Linked DNA regions of Homo sapiens: region 2 is linked to region 1. Evidence: promoter capture Hi-C in human tissues and cell types (Jung and others, 2019). All regions are on one chromosome and are shown on one strand. The core of a region is centred on a gene start or on the middle of the fragment in contact, and the rest is flanking DNA. Distances in the headings are between cores, read along the strand shown.

Region 1 (5,029 bases), core at 1,764-4,263:
CTGAAAGCCTGAAATGACAAGGAGAAAAATAATCATTCATGCCAAAGCAACACCACCATATCTTCAAACTTTTGACTTCTGCCCATAAATTTACTCTTAGCACATCTAGATCTAAACCTAATATTCCAGGTACAAGCCTACCAGTGATGCAACCTTTCTCATTCTAGATTTTGCATTTTCCTGATACAATATACTAATGCAGGTCACATCGGTTCTTCTCACAGCCTTCTTAACCACACCACTGATTGGTGATTAAAACATCACATCTTTTTATTATAGAACTCCTGTGAGGTCACATCTCCACCCTCCCCTAATAGGTATAGTTGATTTTGTTTGGACCCAAGCGCAATTTCTCACATTTATACATGCTTCCTTCATTTCATTAAACAGCACTGAGCAAATTATATTGAGATCTTTTCCCATTCTGGCAATCACCAACCAAATGACTCTTTCTTTACTTCACAAAGGCACCAAATCCAATAAGCAAACCTTCTAGATAAGGTCTCAAATACATGAAGTATATAAAGAAAGTGATGAAACCCCAGTTTAGATCACCGGAATTCCAGCTGTAAGTAGTGTCCACAAATCAAACCTCTCCATACATAGATTTTCAAACTCATGACTCCATCTAACTACCACAATCTGGCAAATTCCTCCATCTCGCCCACTCAGTTATAGTAAGACTCAGTAAGACCAGGCGCGGTGGCTCACACCTGTAATCCCAGCACTTTGGGAGGCTGAGGTGAGTGGATCACCTGAGGTCGGGAGTTCGAGACCAGCCCGGCCAACATGGTGAAACCCCATCTCTACTGAAAATACAAAAATTAGCCAGGCGTGGTGGTGCATGCTTGTAGTCCCAGGTACTTGGGAGGCTGAGGCAGGAGAATCGCTTGAACCAGGAGGCAGAGGTTACAGTGAGCAGAAATTGCACCACTGCACTCCGTCCAACCTGGGCAATGGAGTGAGACTCCATCTCAAAAAAAAAAACAAAAACTTCATAAATGCCTTGCTAAAATTCTGACACACTATCATTATGGTCACTACACTCCTTTGAGCCACAATTTGGATGTCCTGTCCTGTTGTTCTGGCTGAATTTAGGAGAACTCTAGTAAGCCCTTCTCTGGATAAGAAAAGAAAAATGATACATCTTCCATTTTGTATTAATTACAGAATCTCACAAATGGCAAGGATTTTAAACATTTTCTAATGTTGTTTTTCTTAGACAGAGTCTTGCTATGTTGCCCAGGCTGGCCTTAAGCAATCCTCCCACCACTGCACTCGGCCCTAGTCTAATATTTTTCTTTTCTTTTCTTTTTTTGAGAAGTTTAGTTCTTGTTGCCCAGGCTGGAGTGCAGTAGCATATCTTGGCTCACTGCAACCTCTCCCTCCCAGGTTCAAGCGTTTCTCCTGCCTCAGCCTCCCAAATAGCTGGGATTATAGGCACCCACCACCACCCAGCTAAGTTTTGTATTTTTAGTACATACGGGGTTTCACCACGTTGCCCAGACTGGTCTCCAACTCCTGACCTCAGGTGATCCACCCGCCTCAGCATCCCAAAGTGCTGGGATTACTGGCGTGAGCCACAGTGCCCGGCCTTAATATTTTTCAAACTATACGTCATGACCTATTAGGGGTCAGACTCAATTTAGTGAGTTGCAACCAATATTTTTTTAGAGTGCATCTTCTGTAGAAAGGGTAAGTAAACTTTTCATTGGTGTGTGTGTGTGTGTACACACTGAGTGTGCAGGGGCACAATAAGTCATGATGTATAATATATCTAACTGTGGGTCACAGGTAAAAAATTTTGAGACACTTTTCTAGCCCCACAGCCCTATGCCAAGGAGGCTCTACCAAGAAATTGGTAATAAACAAAATGTCATGTTTTTACATCATACAGAGAAACTAGCTAAGAGGATTTTGTGCTCAGTACACGTAATCTGCCATTCATTAAAAAAAAAAAAAAAGATTAGGATCCATCTGGGTGTCCAGTTGAAATACTAAACTGCTTGGAGACAGCCATTTCTGTTTTGGTGGGGTGAAGACCTGTATTTGAGACAGCAGACTGAAATCGGTTTGGTCTGTGGCGAAGGAAGAGAAGAAAAACCATTCTGGGTCGCGAGTTCCTCACCTGTAACCACAGGAGAAGACTGTTGGCTTGGTCAGTTGATTTTCAACTAATCTCCCAATTGAAGAGTTAGGCGAAGCAATTGCTATTGGGAGATTAACTGAAAATTAACTGACCAAGCCAACAAGGACTATGCCTCCCACAAACCAAAACACTTTAACCACTCAGCAAGTCAAGTATTGATACATACAATCAATATCACACAAAGTGTACTGAAAAGAACCACAGACTTGCATCAAAGGCAGAAATGAATCCAGGGATAACTTCCTGGGATTCGAAGATGTGACCTGGTAGGTATAAATTTCTCAGGCATCCTCTTTTTCTACCCTCCAGTTCATCTCCGTCCTCAAGCTATCAGTCATGGATGTGGCACTGGCGTTCTTCTCTGCCACCGTATCTCATTATGCAAAGGGAAACTGAGGCACGAAGAACAGAGTGAGTGAGCCAAAGAACTGCAGCAGCCACCAACAAGGCTGGACTAAGGGCCCAAGCAGCTAATGCCTCACTCCCCACACAATCCCCATACTATTTAGAATCCTGCAGTCCTCAGCCTTCCACCTCAAACCAAACTCCTGGGGCCGCCCGTAGTACGTGGTCCCCTGCTCATCCGATGAAGCCCCCAGCTCTTGCCTGCCTGCCTGCCTCTATAAAGGTCTACGAGGCCTGGAACTCTGAAGCCTAAAGCAACCCCGGCAGCCCCCTCCCACGACCGTCCACAAACCAGTAGCCTCCCTTCGCTCCCACCTCCGCGCCGACGGGCCTGGAGCTCCTCCGCACACCACACCAAGCCGACCACTCAACACCAGAGGACCCACAGAAGAATTCTCTCCACGCCCACCCCCACAGCATCGGCCTTCACCACCGCCGCCGCTGCCGGAAGCGCCCCCACGTCTCCACGCCACCACCGTGAGGTCACTTCCGGCGCGACACCTTGGAATCCAGGGCCGTCAATTGAGGGGCGTGGCACCCGGGAAATTTAAGAGGTTGGAAGAACGTCCCTTCGGCCTTACAGAATTGCGCTTGGGTAGTCATTTTGCCCTCCACGCTTACTTATGTCCTGTGGCGTCTTGGCTGGAATCGGGGCTCTACCCACGACTCCCCAGCCTCGATGCCTGGGCCCCCCTCTTGCAGGCTCGATGAAAAGCACCCGCTTCCCCTCCTGTTACCCCAGCGCCAATCGCAGAGCTGGAGCGGAGGACTTTCAGGGAGGCCTGGTGACGTGACAGCCCCTCCGTGCTAAACTGCAGCTGTGGGACTTAATAAGTGCGACAACCCCCTGATGGATTAAAGAAAACAAGATATTCCTGCCGTGGTCGATCTTCAAAGCGTATCAGCTTCAGCCCTTTTGGGGGTTAAAATCAGCCAGTCCGTGCTTGACTGCTCTCCCTTCCCCCATACTCAGTACACAGGAAAGTGCCGCTCTTCTACCCCTGGCATTTTAGAGTCTTGATTTGTGGGGAGACGGGAAAGCATGCGTTTAGGGCCAAGACCGTGTAATGAGGAATATTGCACAGCCTTGAAGCCTGACACCTGGTTTGGGAACCACTACTTGGGCGAATAGCATAGAGTAGGGTAGCAGTTCCAAACCTAGCTCTACAAAATCAGTTGAAGAACTTTGTAAAATCTACACTTTCTAGGGGACTGCTTCACCCTTCCCCCTCCATCACCAGAGATTCCCTAGGTCAGAAGGGGTCCTTGTCTTTTAAAATTACTGTTATTAATGAACACTTATAGAGCAGTTTTTGGTTCAGGGCAAAACTGAACAGAAAGTACAGAGTTCCCATATATCCCCTGTACACACAGGCACATACACAACTTGTCCCCTCATGGACATCTTGTGCTACAGTGGTACATTTGGTAACAATTGATTACCCAACTTTGACACATCATTATCACCCAGAGTCCATAGTTTACATTAGAGTTTACTCTCGGTGTTGCACATTCTGTGGGTTTTGACATATATGTAATGACATGTATCCACCATTATGGTATCATACACGATAGTTTCACTGCCCTGAAAATCCTCTGTCCTCTGCCTATTTATCCTTCTCAGTCCCCTAACCACTGGCAACCACTGCTCCTTTTACTGTCTCCATAGTTTTGCCTTTTCCAGAATCCCATATAGTTGGAATCATACAGTATGCAGCCTTTTCACATCGGATTCTTTCACTTATGCACTTAAAGTTCTTCCATGTCTTTTCATGGCTTGATAGCTCATTTCTTTTTTGTGCTGAATAATAATATTCCATCGTCTGGATGTGCTGCGGTTTATCCATTCACCTACTGAAAGACATCTTGGTGGCCTCCAAGTTTGGGTAATTATGAATAAAGCCGCTATACATCATGTGCAGATTTTTGTGTAGACATGAGTTTTCAATTCATCTGGGTAAATACCAAGGAGTGCAACTGCTGGATTGGATGGTATATTTAGTTTTGGGAGAAACTACCAAACTGCCTTTCAAAGTGGCTGCATCATTTTGCATTCCCACAGCAGTGAATGAGGGTTTCTGTTGCTCCACATCCTTGTCAGCGTTTTGTGGTGTCAGTATTTTGCCGTTCAAGTAAGTGTGTAGTAGTATCTTATTGTTTTAATATGCAATTCCCTAATGACATATGATATTGAACATCTTTTCATATACTTACTTGCCATGTGTATATCTTCTTTGATGAAGTGTTCATTCAGGTATTTTGCCCATTTTTACATTGTGTTATTTTCTTGTTGTGATTTAAGAGTTCTGGGTATATTGTAGATAACAGTCCTCTATCAGATACGTCTTTTATAATATTTTCTCCTAGTCTGTGGCTTGTCTTCTCATTCTTCTTTTGAAGAGCAGAAGTTTTAAATTTTAATGAAGTCCAGCTTATCAATTATATTTTTCACAGATTATGCTATTGGTATTGCCC
Region 2 (4,493 bases), core at 549-3,048, 41 kb after region 1:
ACAAAAATCCTCCATGTTTTGGTGGGTGGGGAAGGGCTATGAAGATCCAGCCTCCGGGATGCTGCCCAGAGAAAGCTGGGGAGCAGGTGGCCCAGAGCTTCTGGACTGACCCTAGATGGAGGGCAGTGGAGATGAAAGGAGATCTTCTTTTTCCTTTCTCTTCTGCCTTTAATAACATCAAATATGATTAATTTAGGTCCATATTATAGATGAGAATTTGACTAATTCTTCTCAGGTTAGCAGTTTATTATTGCACAAATGTTTCCCAAGCCAATGAATTATGAAATAAGCCTTGCAGGGGAATGTTTGAGCTACTGAAGGGCATGTTCGGCATGATCAGAGGAACACTCTGTTTCCAAGTTAGTAATGCCTCTTTACATATAAACACTGATGTTTGTTGATAATGAACATTCATGTCCTCAATCAAAGCAGAGCCTCTGGGGACACTTCTCTATCAGCCAAGTGCTCCTAGAAGTGTTCCGCCCTGGTTAGAATGTGCGCCCCAATTTTCATGTGTTGGAAACATAATCCCAAAATTCATATGTTGATTAAAGGTAGTGAGGGCTTTGGGAAGTAATTAAGATTAGATAAGGTCATCAAGGTGGTACTCCCATGATGAGACTGGAGGCTTTATAAGAAGAGGAAGAGAGACCTGAGCTGACACCACACTCTTGCCCTCTTACCATGTAATGTCCCCCTCTGTGTTTTGGTGTTTTGGCTTGTTTTGTTTGTTTGTTTGTTTGTTTTTGAGATTGAGCCTCACTCTGTCACTCAGGCTGGAGTGCAATGGTGTGATCTCGGCTCACTACAACCACCACCTCCCAGGTTCAAGTGATTCTCTTGCCTCAGCCTCCCAAATAGCTGGGATTACAGGCATGCACCACCACACCCGGCTAATTTTTGCATTTATTCAGTAGAGACGGGGATTTCACCATATTGGCCAGGCTGGTCTGGAACTCCTGATCTCAAGTAATCCACCTACCTCAACCTCCCAAAGTGCTGGGATTACAGGTGTGAGCCACCACGCCTGACCTAGTCAGTGGTATCCTGTTATAGCAACCGAGAACAGACTGAGACATACATGCTCCCATGGTCTTTGCCAAGGAGGTAGCCTATTCAGATCCACTGGGGTGTCCAGCCAGTGAGGGCCACTCAGCCAACTTACGAATCCTTTTCCAACTCAACTGCTCCATCACTTGTAGACACCCAATAGCCCTTCCTCCCAATCTTGATTTTTCCTCCTTAGCACTCACCGCTCTTGTTTTGTCTAGGAACCCTCCATCTTCCTTTCTAGAACTATGTGCTTTAGGGGAAGCTGACCCCAGCCCCAGCCTCACAGAGTGGGTCTTGGCTGATCTGAACCAGTCATTGTTGCCCTGGCTGTCTTGCTGGTGATTTAATTAAACATAGATCTGTGACATGATTCTGGCCAATGATATGGGAAAAAATCTGCTGGGACAACTTTTAGGAGAAGCTTTCTTCACTCTTCAAAGAGACACATGAGAATGAAACTAGACCCCTGTCTCTCACCATATACATAAATCAAAACCAAAATGGATTAAAGGCTTCAATCTAAGACCACAAACTATGAAATTACTAAAAGGAAGCATTGGGAAAACTCTCCAGGACTGGACAAAAATTCCTCTTTTCTTTTTTTCTTTCTTTTTTTTTTTTTTTTTTTTTTTTGTAGAGGCACAGTCTCAACTATGCTACCCAGGCTGGTCTCAAACTTCTGGGCTCAAGCTATCCTCCTGCCTAGGTCTCACAAAGTGCTGGAAATCATAGGCATGAGCCACCTTGCCTGGCCCGGACAAAGATGTCTTGAGTGATATCTTACAAGTACAGGCTGAAGCAAAAATGGACAAATGAGATCTCATCAAGTTAAAAGGCTTCTGCACAGCAAAGGAAACAATCAACAAAGTGAAGAGACAATCCACAGAATGGGAGAAAATATTTGCAAACTACCCATCTGACATGGGATTAATAACTGGAATATATAAGGAGCTCAAACAACTCAACAGGAAAAAGTCTAATAATCTGGCTTTTAAATTTAATCTGGCAAAAGATCTGAATAGACATTTCTCAAAAGAAGAAATACAAATGGCAAGCAAGTATATGAAAAGGTGCTTAACATCATTGATCAGAGAAATGCAAATCAAAACTACAATGAGATATCCTCTCACCAGTTAAGATGGCTTTTGTCCAAAAGACAGGCAATGACAAATGCTGGAGAGGATGTGGAGGAAAGGGGACCTTCGTACACTGTTGAAAATGTAAATCAGTGTAAACACTACAAAGAACAGTTTGGAGGTTCCTCAATAAACTAAAAATAGAGCTACCATACGATCCAGCAATCCCACTGTTACGTATACACCCAAAGAAAGGAAATCAGTATGTCAAAGAGATATTTGCACTCCCATGTTGACTGCGGCATTGTTCACAAAAGTTAAGATTTGGAAGCAACCTAAGTGTCCACCAACAGATGAATAGGTAAAGAAAATATAGTGCATATACACAATGGAGTGCTATTCAGCTGTAAAAAGAATGAGATCCGGCCGGGCGCAGTGGCTCACGCCAGTAATCCCAGCACTTTGGAAGGCGTAGGAGGGCGGATCATGAGGTCAGGAGATAGAGACCATCCTGGCTAACACGGTGAAACCCCGTCTCTACTAAAAATACAGAATATTAGCCGGGCATGGTGGCGGGCACCTGTAGTCCCAGCTACTCAGGAGGCTGAGGCAGAAGAATGGCGTGAACCCGGGAGGCGGAGCTTGCAGTGAGCCGAGACCACACCACTGCACTCCAGCCTGGGCGACAGAGCGAGACTCCGTCTCAAAAAAAAAAAAAAAAAACCAATGAGATCCTGTCATTTGCAGCAACACGGATGGAACTGGAGGTCATTATGTTGAGTCAAATAAGCCAGGCACGGGGAGACAAACTTCACATGTTCTCACTTATTTGAGAGCTGAAAATTAAAACAGTTGAACTCATGGAGATAGGAGAATGATGGTTACTAGAGGCTGGGAAGGGTAGTGGGAGCAGGGAGGGAGTAGGGATGATTAATGGGTACAAAATATAGTTAGAAAGAATGAATAAGATCTAGTATTTGATGGCACAACAAGATGGCTACAGTCAATGTATTAGTCCGTTTTCACTGTTGATAAAGACATAGCCGAGACTGGGCAATTTACAAAAGAAAGAGGTTTAATGGACTTACAGTTCCGCGTGGGTGGGGAGGCCTCACAATCATGGCAGAAGATGAAAGGCACATCTCACATGGTGGCAGACAAGAGAAGACAGCTTGTGCAGGGAAATTCCCCTTTTTAAAACCACCAGATCTCATGAGACTTATTCACTATCACGAGAACAGCACAGGAAACACCTGCCCCCATGATTCAATTACCTCCCACTGGGTCCCTCCCACAGCATGTGGGAATTCAAGATGAGATTTAAGTGGGGACACAGCCAAACCATATTAGTCAATGAAAATTTATTGTACATTATTAAATAACTGAAAGAATAGATGTCTGTAACACAAAGGAAGGATAAATGTTTGAGATGATGGATACCTCATTTAACCCGATGTGGTTATTACACATTGTATGCCTGTATCAAAATATTTAATGTGCCCCATAAACATATACACCTACTATGTACCCACAAAAATTAAAAATTAAAATTAGGCTGGACACGGTGGCTCACGCCTGTAATCCCAGCACTTTGGGAGGCCCAGGTGGGGTTATCACTTGAGGTCAGGAGGTCAAGACCAGCCTGGCCAACATAGTGAAACCTTGTCTCTACTAAAAAGACAAAAGTTAACCAGGAGTGGTGGCATGCACCTGTAATCCCAGCTACTTGGGAAGCTGAGACATGAGAGTCACTTGAACCCAGGAGGCAGAGGTTACAGTGAGCCAAGATCGTACTACTGCACTCCAGCCTGGGTGACAGTGAGACTTCATCTTCAAAAAATAATAATAATAATAGGCTGGGTGCTATTGCTCACGCCTGTAGTCCCAGCACTTTGGGAGGCTGAGGCGGGCAGATCACGAGGTCAGGAGATCAAGACCATCCTGGCTAACACAGTGAAACCCTGTCTCTACTAAAAATACAAAAAAATTAGCCGGGCATGGTGGCAGGCATCTGTAGTCCCAGCTACTTGGGAGGCTGAGGCAGGAGAATGGCATGAACCCAGGAGGCAGAGCTTGCAGTGAGCCGAGATCGCGCCACTGCACTCCAGCCTGGGCGACAGAGTGAGACTCCATCTCAAAAATAATAATAATAATAATAATAAAATAAATTAAATTAAATAATTGCAAGGTGTGGGGAGTTTTTCTGAAAGGGGGATAAGTGGCAAGAGATACACTCTAGTCTCTCTGGCCTTTGTCAGGTGTGGATGATGTGATGGCCAGAGCTACCGCAGCCATCTTGTGACCACAAGGGAGCCAGCGTGGGGGGAAGCTGCATTCAAAGATTAGCAGTGCAAAAATGCAGAA

What was found. The method cuts DNA at HindIII sites, captures the fragments that hold promoters and counts their contacts. A contact is called where the count stands out against the background at its distance.
Region 2: a fragment that was not itself captured here is called in contact with the fragment with the promoter of EDC3 in region 1 in 5 of the 25 tissues and cell types used here (heart right ventricle, lymphoblastoid cells, mesenchymal stem cells and 2 more).

What each region holds. Positions count from the first base shown.
Region 1 is chr15:74,693,011-74,698,039 of GRCh38, forward strand. It overlaps EDC3 (enhancer of mRNA decapping 3), which reads right to left and starts at 3,014. Exons shown (of 7, transcript NM_025083.5): 1 at 2,870-3,014. RefSeq lists an enhancer at 2,974-3,063. The HindIII fragment of the contact is 33,216 bases long and covers 1-5,029 here.
Region 2 is chr15:74,735,170-74,739,662 of GRCh38, forward strand. No RefSeq gene overlaps it. Among named protein-coding and RNA genes, the nearest start is that of CYP1A2, 11 kb to the right of the region's middle. The HindIII fragment of the contact is 3,761 bases long and covers 1-3,679 here.